Linked DNA regions of Homo sapiens: regions 1 and 2 are each linked to region 3. Evidence: promoter capture Hi-C in human tissues and cell types (Jung and others, 2019). All regions are on one chromosome and are shown on one strand. The core of a region is centred on a gene start or on the middle of the fragment in contact, and the rest is flanking DNA. Distances in the headings are between cores, read along the strand shown.

The links. Contacts are between HindIII fragments. The study calls those that stand out against the background at their distance.
Region 1: a contact is called between a fragment that was not itself captured here and the fragment with the promoter of CRYGB in region 3, in 1 of the 25 tissues and cell types used here (H1 embryonic stem cells).
Region 2: a contact is called between a fragment that was not itself captured here and the fragment with the promoter of CRYGB in region 3, in 1 of the 25 tissues and cell types used here (heart right ventricle).

What each region holds. Positions count from the first base shown.
Region 1 is chr2:208,182,074-208,184,773 of GRCh38, reverse strand. C2orf80 (chromosome 2 open reading frame 80) reads left to right here. Exons shown (of 9, transcript NM_001099334.3): 4 at 1,727-1,809. Among named protein-coding and RNA genes, the nearest start is that of C2orf80, 6.6 kb to the left of the region's middle. The HindIII fragment of the contact is 7,429 bases long and covers 1-2,700 here.
Region 2 is chr2:208,093,463-208,096,162 of GRCh38, reverse strand. No RefSeq gene overlaps it. Among named protein-coding and RNA genes, the nearest start is that of CRYGD, 30 kb to the left of the region's middle. The HindIII fragment of the contact is 6,448 bases long and covers 1-2,700 here.
Region 3 is chr2:208,144,836-208,147,709 of GRCh38, reverse strand. CRYGB (crystallin gamma B) reads left to right here and starts at 1,552. Exons shown (of 3, transcript NM_005210.4): 1 at 1,552-1,598; 2 at 1,694-1,936. The coding sequence starts at 1,590. The region is part of intron 2 of LOC100507443 (a long non-coding RNA gene); the gene reads right to left. RefSeq lists an enhancer at 1,737-2,360. The HindIII fragment of the contact is 6,166 bases long and covers 1-2,874 here.

The sequences.
Region 1 (2,700 bases), core at 178-2,677, 37 kb before region 3:
CCAGAAAGCAAAGAGAATGAGAAAATAAAAATCATGAGAGTTATTTGCTATTAGGAAAGAAGATTAAAAATCAAAATTAATGCCAGGCAAAATGTTACGTCTGTGGAGTTAAGAGTTTGACAAAATTAGCTATCATGTAGTTCTCAAAATAATTTCTTTACCATTTGCATTAGTGAGAGAAAACCAAATAAATTAAGTAACCCTAAAAATCCTTGGTGTTATTTATTTCGAAGCCCAGACTCAGGATCTGAAAGTTCACGTCACAGAAATTGAGGAAGAAACCATATAAAGATCTAACTCAAAAGAAATTAGCAAACCCTCAGTTTTTTCACTGCCCATTTACTATCCTTACACTAATAAAAAAGACTCTCTCCCTCCACTCCCCTCTCCTCTTCTTCTCCGACTAAAGTAGAGCCAGGCTCACTGGCTTTCAAAACTACCCTGGAGCTAAGGAAATAGTTAAGCCTTATTCTCTGTGTACACATATTAAACAGAGAAATTAAGTAGATTAGAGCAGTGCTTCTCAAACTTTAATGAGGTCGTATTACAAGGCTGTTTTGATTCAGGAGGTGAAGGGGGGCGGGGGTGAGGGGGGCGCCCCCGCGGCCTAGGAATTTGCATTTCAAATGACCAAACAAGTGATGCCAAGGCATCAAACTTTGGATCCGGTTGCAACATTTGGTCATGGTCCCATTCTTCCTGTTTATTTATTCATTTAGGTTCACTGTTCAGTTTGGTTCAGTCCCTGGAAGAAATAATTCCACCGTTTAAAAATGTTAAAACTTCAGAACGCCTCTACAAAAATTAAAAACAAAACCAATCTTCCGTTTTCTGTGTGTGGGGACTGAAAGGAGAGAAGGAATATTTTGATAGACAAATGGTAAATATGCTTACTGAACAAGAACTCTTAGGAATTACTAGGAAAAGGTGGTCACCATGATAAAAATAAGCCTCCGCATTGGTTCTCAGCTTTTTACTATACGTGCGTGTGAAACTCTCAGCAAGTCACTTACTCAGGTCTGCCCCCTTCCCCGCCCGCTCCGTCCTTGCCTCATGCTAGTTCCTCTACCTGTGATTTCCTTCCCCATCTGTAGACATTCTCATCCCACAAGCCCCAGCTCCAATGCAGCTTCCCTCTCTGAAGCTTCTTGGGATTCTAGCTATCTCCCCAGGTAGACATAAAACGGCCCATCCCTCCAAATTCCCACCACACTGCCCCTGTACCCCTGGAAGCACATTTCTGACATTCTACTCACAGAATCAGAAATTGTTCCCTGCAGCCCTGTTCCCCCACCCTTACCTTTTACTATGTTAAAATTTAGGGAAACTGAGGCCCAGAAAGCATCAGTTACTCACCTAAGAATATTCCGTGAGTTGTTGGCAATACCTAGATTTGAGCCCAGATTTTCTGATTCCAAGTTTATTATTCTTCACTGATCTCTCCTTTCTTTTCCAAATCACAGAAATCAGATAACTGCTCTAGTGGAAATAAATTTAATGTCTCAAGATCCCAAAATATTTCTGGCTGATTCATCCCTGTGAGGCGAGGTCTCAGAAAAAAAAAAAAAAATCTGGCCGAGCATCAGGTTATTAAAGCTAATGATCCTTCCCATTTTGGACATGACAGACTAGAATAGGCTTAGCAGTCCCATTGTCATTGGGTCCAGGGAGTACTTCGGCCAATGTCTAAGCCTGTTTCTTTGCTCTCTGTGCTTCCTGCTCCCAGGCACACTATGACTTGGCCATCAGTGTTGCTTTGCAATGGCTGGATCCCTCAGAAGACTTAACTTGGCTGGAGTGGGAGGAACTGTAAGTTGAAGTAGGTTTGTTGCTTTCCTCTTTAATTTGTGCCTATGATTAATGATAGAGGAAGTTCCAGCCCTAACATCTTCCATCATGAGGCACTTTGATTTGAAAACACTACTGGGTGAATATCCCTCTTCAACGAGACACCTGAGGAACCTGAACAGTTGCCAACTTGAAGAAGTTACATGTTTCCATGTTTTGCATCTCTATACTAATTGACTTCAGTGAGATGAAAGACTTTCTTGCACAGAATGTTGTGTCTTAAGGGGCCGGGCGCGGTGGCTCAGGCCTGTAATCCCAGCACTCTGGGAGGCTGAGGCAGACTCATTACTTGAAGCCAGGAGTTCAAGACCAACCTGGACAATATGGTAAAACCTCGCCTCTATTAAAAATACAAAAATTCGCCTAGCGTGGTGGCGCACACCTGTACTCAGGAGGCTGAGGCAGGAGAGGAGAATCACTTGAACCCAGGAGGCAGAGGTTGCAGTGAGCCAAGATTGTGCCACTTCACTCCAGCCTGGGCAACAGAGTGAGACTCCATCTCAAAAATAAAGAATGCTCTGTCTTAGAAACATGACTGCTTTACTATGTACATGCCATGATTTAAAACAGTCAGTTCTATGGGTAAAGACTGTAACCTTTTCCTAAGGACTACCAAACAAATTCTTAAGCATTTAGGCAGACATGTATCTGAGCTGAGCTGTTTGAAGCGCAGAATAATTTTCTTTCTGGGATTACCAGCATTTTCTGTCATGTATAGGGAGTGTTCAGGCAGACTCACTCAATTGGTAAGAACACAGAACTAATGAGGACAGGATCAAATAGCTTATTCTGGAGGCCTGTTATTTTTTTTCTACTCAATGGCTCTGGACTACACACCTGATCCTAGAGAGT
Region 2 (2,700 bases), core at 62-2,561, 51 kb after region 3:
AGCCTTTCAGCAGGCTTGATGCAATCGGGCCTGTTTCCTTAAAGACAAAGAACTGACAAATGAGAGGAAGGATGGAAGCAAGAAATCCAGGAAGCCACAAGAGTGTTAGCAGAGAGCAGGGCCAACTCCAAGTGTATCTGCTCCTTGATAGGGGTCAGCTGGACATAGCCTGTGCCTCCCATTTTGGAGAAATAAGAGCTTAGGGTAGCCAGATCTTCTCACTTTTTGCGAAAACCTAAAACTGTGCATTCAATGGCAATTACCTACCCCAACACTGATTTTTAATGTTGCTTAAACATCTTTAAATCACCACACAGGACAAGCAAAACATCCTCAGTTAAATTTCTGTACAATTAGGAATACAGGAGGGATTTAAATTCCAAACAGGGCCGGACGCGCTGGCTCATGCTTGTAATCCCAGCACTTTGGGAGGCCGAGGTGGGTGGATCACTTGAGGTCAGGAGTTCAAAACCAGCCTGGCCAACATGATGAAACCCCATCTCTACTAAAATACAAAAAAATTAGCCGGGCGCAGTGGCAGGCACCTGTAATCCCAGCTACTTGGGAGGCTGAGGCAGGAGAATTGCTTGAACCCAGGAGACAGAGTTTGCAGTGAGCTGAGATCACACCACTGGAATCCAGCCTGGGTGACAGAGCGAGACTCCATCTCAAAAAATAATAAATAAATAAAAATTAAAAAAAATTAAATCTAGACAATAAGGTTTGGTAATTGATTCCTAGAGTCAGGCCAACCTGCGTTTGAATTCTTTTTTTCTCACTAACCAACCAGGAGGCCAGGGGCTAGTGAGACAGCCTCTTTGAGCCTTATTACACAAGATGGTTGACATTGTTGCTATGAAAGACAAATAAGAAATGCATGTTAAGTATTTAGAACAGGACCTAGCATATAATAAATACTCAATAGACTGGGTGCACTGGCTGATGCCTGTAATCTGAGCACTTTGGGAGGCAAGGTAGGAGTATTGTTTGAGACTGGGAGTTCAAGACCAACCTGGGCAACATAGTAAGACCTCACCTCTACAAAAATAAATAAATATATACATTTTTTAAGTGCTCACTATGTGTTTCTGTGGCTGTTGTTATATCTATTGTATTGTATTCTACATTGTATATTTTATTATTGTCTAGTTAATATATTATTATCCTTTTCATCAGTTAGAATTGAGTTTTTATTTAGATTCAAAGCACCACAAATACCCACTGCAATCTTAAAAACAACAATTCATATCCCTGGTTTTGATACCCATAGTTGTAAGAAAAGCAAGAGAAAACCGGCTGGGTAGAGCGGCTCACACCTGTAATCCTAGAACTTTGGAATGCCGAAGCAGGAGTATTGCTTGAGGGCAGGAGCTCAAGGCCAGCCTGGGCAACATGTTGAGACTCTATCTCTACAATCTTTAAAAAGTTAACTGGGCCGGGCGCGGTGGCTCACGCCTGTAATCCCAGCACTTTGGGAGGCCGAGGCGGGTGGATCACGAGGTCAGGAGATCGAGACCATCCTGGCTAACAAGGTGAAACCCCGTCTCTACTAAAAATACAAAAAATTAGCCGGGCGCGGTGGCGGGCGCCTGTAGTCCCAGCTACTCGGGAGGCTGAGGCAGGAGAATGGCGTGAACCCGGGAAGCAGAGCTTGCAGTGAGCCGAGATTGCGCCACTGCAGTCCGCAGTCCGGCCTGGGCGACAGAGCGAGACTCCGCCTCAAAAAAAAAAAAAAAAAAAAAAAAAAAAAAAAAAAAAAAAAAAAAAAGTTAACTGGGCGGCCAGGCCTGTGGCTCACACCTGTAATCCCAGCACTTTGGGAGGCCAAGGTGGGCAGATCAGGAGGTCAGCAGATCAAGACCATCCTGGCTAAAACGGGGAAACCCAGTCTCTACTAAAAATACAAAAAATTAGCCAGGTGTGGTGGCGGGCACCTGTAGTCCCAGCTACTCGGGAGGCTGAGGCAGGAGAATGGCGTGAATTCAGGAGGCGGAGCTTGCAGTGAGCTGAGATGGCGCCACTGCACTCCAGCCTGGGCGACAGAGCGAGACTCTGTCTCAAAAAAAAAAAAAAAAAAAGTTAACCGGGCATGGTGTTGAGTGCCTGTAATCCCACCTACTCAGGAGGCTGAGGCAGGAAGATCACTTGAGCACAGGGGGTGGAGGTTGCAGTGAGCTATGATGAAACCACTGCACTCCAGTCTGGGTGACAGAGCGAGACCCTGCGAAAGGAAGGAAGGAAGGAAGGAAGGAAGGAAGGGAGGGAGGGAGGGAGGGACTTAGCTGTCATTATTTTTATCCTGCCTAAGGAAAACAAGCCAGAAAATATGGACTGGAAATTCAGTGAGTCTTCTCCCAAGAATATTTGCTAATTGCATTTTCGAATGAGCCTCATTCTTTCTCTCACTTCTTTTCAAGTCTTGCAAGTTTTTAACTTAGAAATTTTTCAGGCTTAGAAACTTAGATGGCTCACGCCTGTAATACCAGCACATTGGGAGGTCAAGGTGGGAGGATTGATTGAGCCTGGGTATTTGAGACAAACCTGGTCAAAAAAGTGAGACCTCACTTCTAAAAAATAATTTTTAATTAATTAATTAATTTAAATCGATCAATTAAATTTGTTAATTAAATTTTTCCACCTTATATTTTCAAAAATAATGAATTTTTTTAACATTTTCAATAGCCCAACCTAAATTTATAA
Region 3 (2,874 bases), core at 303-2,802:
TATATGGAATTATTGAGCAGTAATGTGTGGCTTGGCTGGCTGGTCCAGGGCCTGGAAGGAGAAAGATTGGAAGATTAGGGACAAGAAGGTCTGGGGTAGAGGAATGTGCAGGGAGATATGGGATTGGGCACAAAGGGCGAAGATAGTTGTATCCCATGTGAAGGCCCAGTGTAGGGCATCCACCATTGAAGAGGCACTAAACAACCAAGTAGAAAAAATGATTTGGTCATTTGATTCCAGTCAGCGTCTGCCATCAGCCACCCTACTGCTGGCAGTGAGCTCACTAAGAGAGCGTTCATAGTGGTATGGATGAAGGCTATGCATTAACTTCTACTTATTAAGGCTAATCCAGCTATTTCCACTGTAGAATGTCCAATCTGCCAGCAATAGGGACCAACTCTGAGCCCTTTTGGTCCCATGCCTTGAGAAGACCAATCAGCCACTTAGTGGTAACATTTGAGGCAGAGCAGGAACACCAAACAGCAGGCAGGACTCTGGACAGCCACCAGCAGAAGGAGGGATTTAGGCCCTTAGGAAGATCTGAAAGGGGGAAGAAAGCCACAACTATCTGTTTTTGCTCAGGTCAGAGCCAATTATTGAGGACCTGCAATGTGCCAACCCTCTGCTCTAGGGCTCAGGGATAGACATGAACAAGAAATAATACCCAGCCCCCAGAAGCCTACAAAATTCCAGGCAAGTATCAGTTTTATTCAAGACAAGCCCCCAAACACCAACAATGATGATCACAGAATTTTTTTTTTTTTTTTTTTGCGACAGGGTCTTGCTCTGTTGCCCAGGCTGGAGTGCAGTGGTGCAATCATGGCTCACTGCAACCTCGACCTCCTGAGCTTAAGCAATCCTCTCACCTCAGCCTCCCAAATAGCTGGGACTACAGGTATGCGCCACCATGCAGGGCTAATTTTTGTATTTGTTGTAGAGATGGGGTCTCACCATGTTACCTAGGCTGGTCTCTAACTCCTGAGCTCAAGCAATCCACCTGCCTCAGCCTCCCAAAGTCCTGGGATTATAGGTGTGCACCACCTCGCCTGGCTGATCACAGAATTTTGAATTTGAACTAAGCTTTATGGGTTTTAACACACTTTCACAGATTACTTCACTTGATTCCCTCTTCTTTAAGATTCCTTACTATTTAAATTCTGGCTTTTAGAACTAAAACACACACACACACACACACAAAAACACCACCAGTCCCTGAGCAGAATTCATTACTTAGTTTAATGACTTTTGAGAAGTCAATTAAGCAGAGTAAACTATAAAATAAAAGCACAGAGACAGAATTTCGCCCATCCTTTTGCTCAACTAAAAGTGTACTCTATTCATTTTGATGGCAACAACAGCTTTAGTGAATTAGAACAACCCGAACCTACCAGAAAGAATGAGAGTAAACCATTCAGCCAACCCCAGTGACCTGGGCACGGAGAGCAGCGAGCTTGCAAATCCCCTTACTCACCAAAATGGGCCCTTTTGTGTGATTTCCTGTGGAGGCAGCAGTCAGGGCTGCTATACATACAGTGACGTTCCCGCAGTCCCACACAGCAACCAGAAAACATCTGCTCACTTCCTTCAAAATGGGAAAGGTAAGTCCTGGGTACCGGATGCTCAGCCTTGGCCCTAATGCAGTGGCCTCAGTGGGGGCCAATCACTCCATGCTCCCACATCTTCCATTTTTCAGATCACCTTCTACGAGGACAGGGCCTTCCAGGGCCGCAGCTACGAATGCACCACTGACTGCCCCAACCTACAACCCTATTTCAGCCGCTGCAACTCCATCAGGGTGGAGAGCGGCTGCTGGATGATCTATGAGCGCCCCAACTACCAGGGCCACCAGTACTTCCTGCGGCGTGGGGAGTACCCTGACTACCAGCAATGGATGGGCCTCAGCGACTCCATCCGCTCCTGCTGCCTCATCCCCCCGGTGAGTGTGGCTCTGTCTTTGCCTTCCATCTTTTTGGAAATAAAAGCTATTTCATGATATTCTTTTTTTTTTTTTTTTTTTTTTTGAGGCGGAGTCTCGCTCTGTCCCCCAGGGTGGAGTGCAGTGGCATGATCTCGGCTCACTGCAACTTCCGCCTCCCGGGTTCAAGCAATTCCCCTGCCTCAGCCTCCTGAGTAGTTGGGATTACAGGCATGCACCACCATGCCCAGCCAATTTTTGTATTCATAGTAGAGACGAGGTTGCACCATGTTGCCCAGGCTGATCTCGAACTCCTGGCCTCAAGTGATCCGCCCGCCTCGGCCTCCCAAAGTGCTGGGATTACAGGTGTGAACCACGGCATCCGGCCTATTTAATCACATTATTCTTAAATCCCAGCTACTCGGGCGGCTGGGGCAGGAGAATTGCTTGCTTGAAGCCGGGAGATGGAGGTTGCAGTGAGCCGAGATCGTGCCACTGCACTCCAGCCTGGTGACAGAGTGAGACTCCATCTCAAAACGACAATAACAACAACAACAACAACAACAACAAACTTTTGCTTGCTTTGTCTTACTTTTCTATTTGATTATTCCTCCTGAGAAGATAGGATCCTGTCTTCTGATTTCTATTCTAATTTAATGGTCAGTACCTATTAGCTCACTTAGAGGTATAAATTAGAGAAAAGGCCAAATCTGAAACTAAAGTTTGAGATTCCATATTTTCTGGGCAGTGACTGCAGAATTCTTAGAATTGTGGTGTGTGGGAGGCATGGGATACAGTGTCATAAAAACAGAAGTTAATGAAGGTGATACTTGCTGCTGAGGGAAATAAATAAGTTGAGAGCAGGAGGCTAGAAAGGAAGCTTAAAAGTCAGATAGGTTGAAATTTGAACTGAAGGCTGGGTGCGGTGGCTCACGCCTGTAATCCCAGCACTTTGGGAG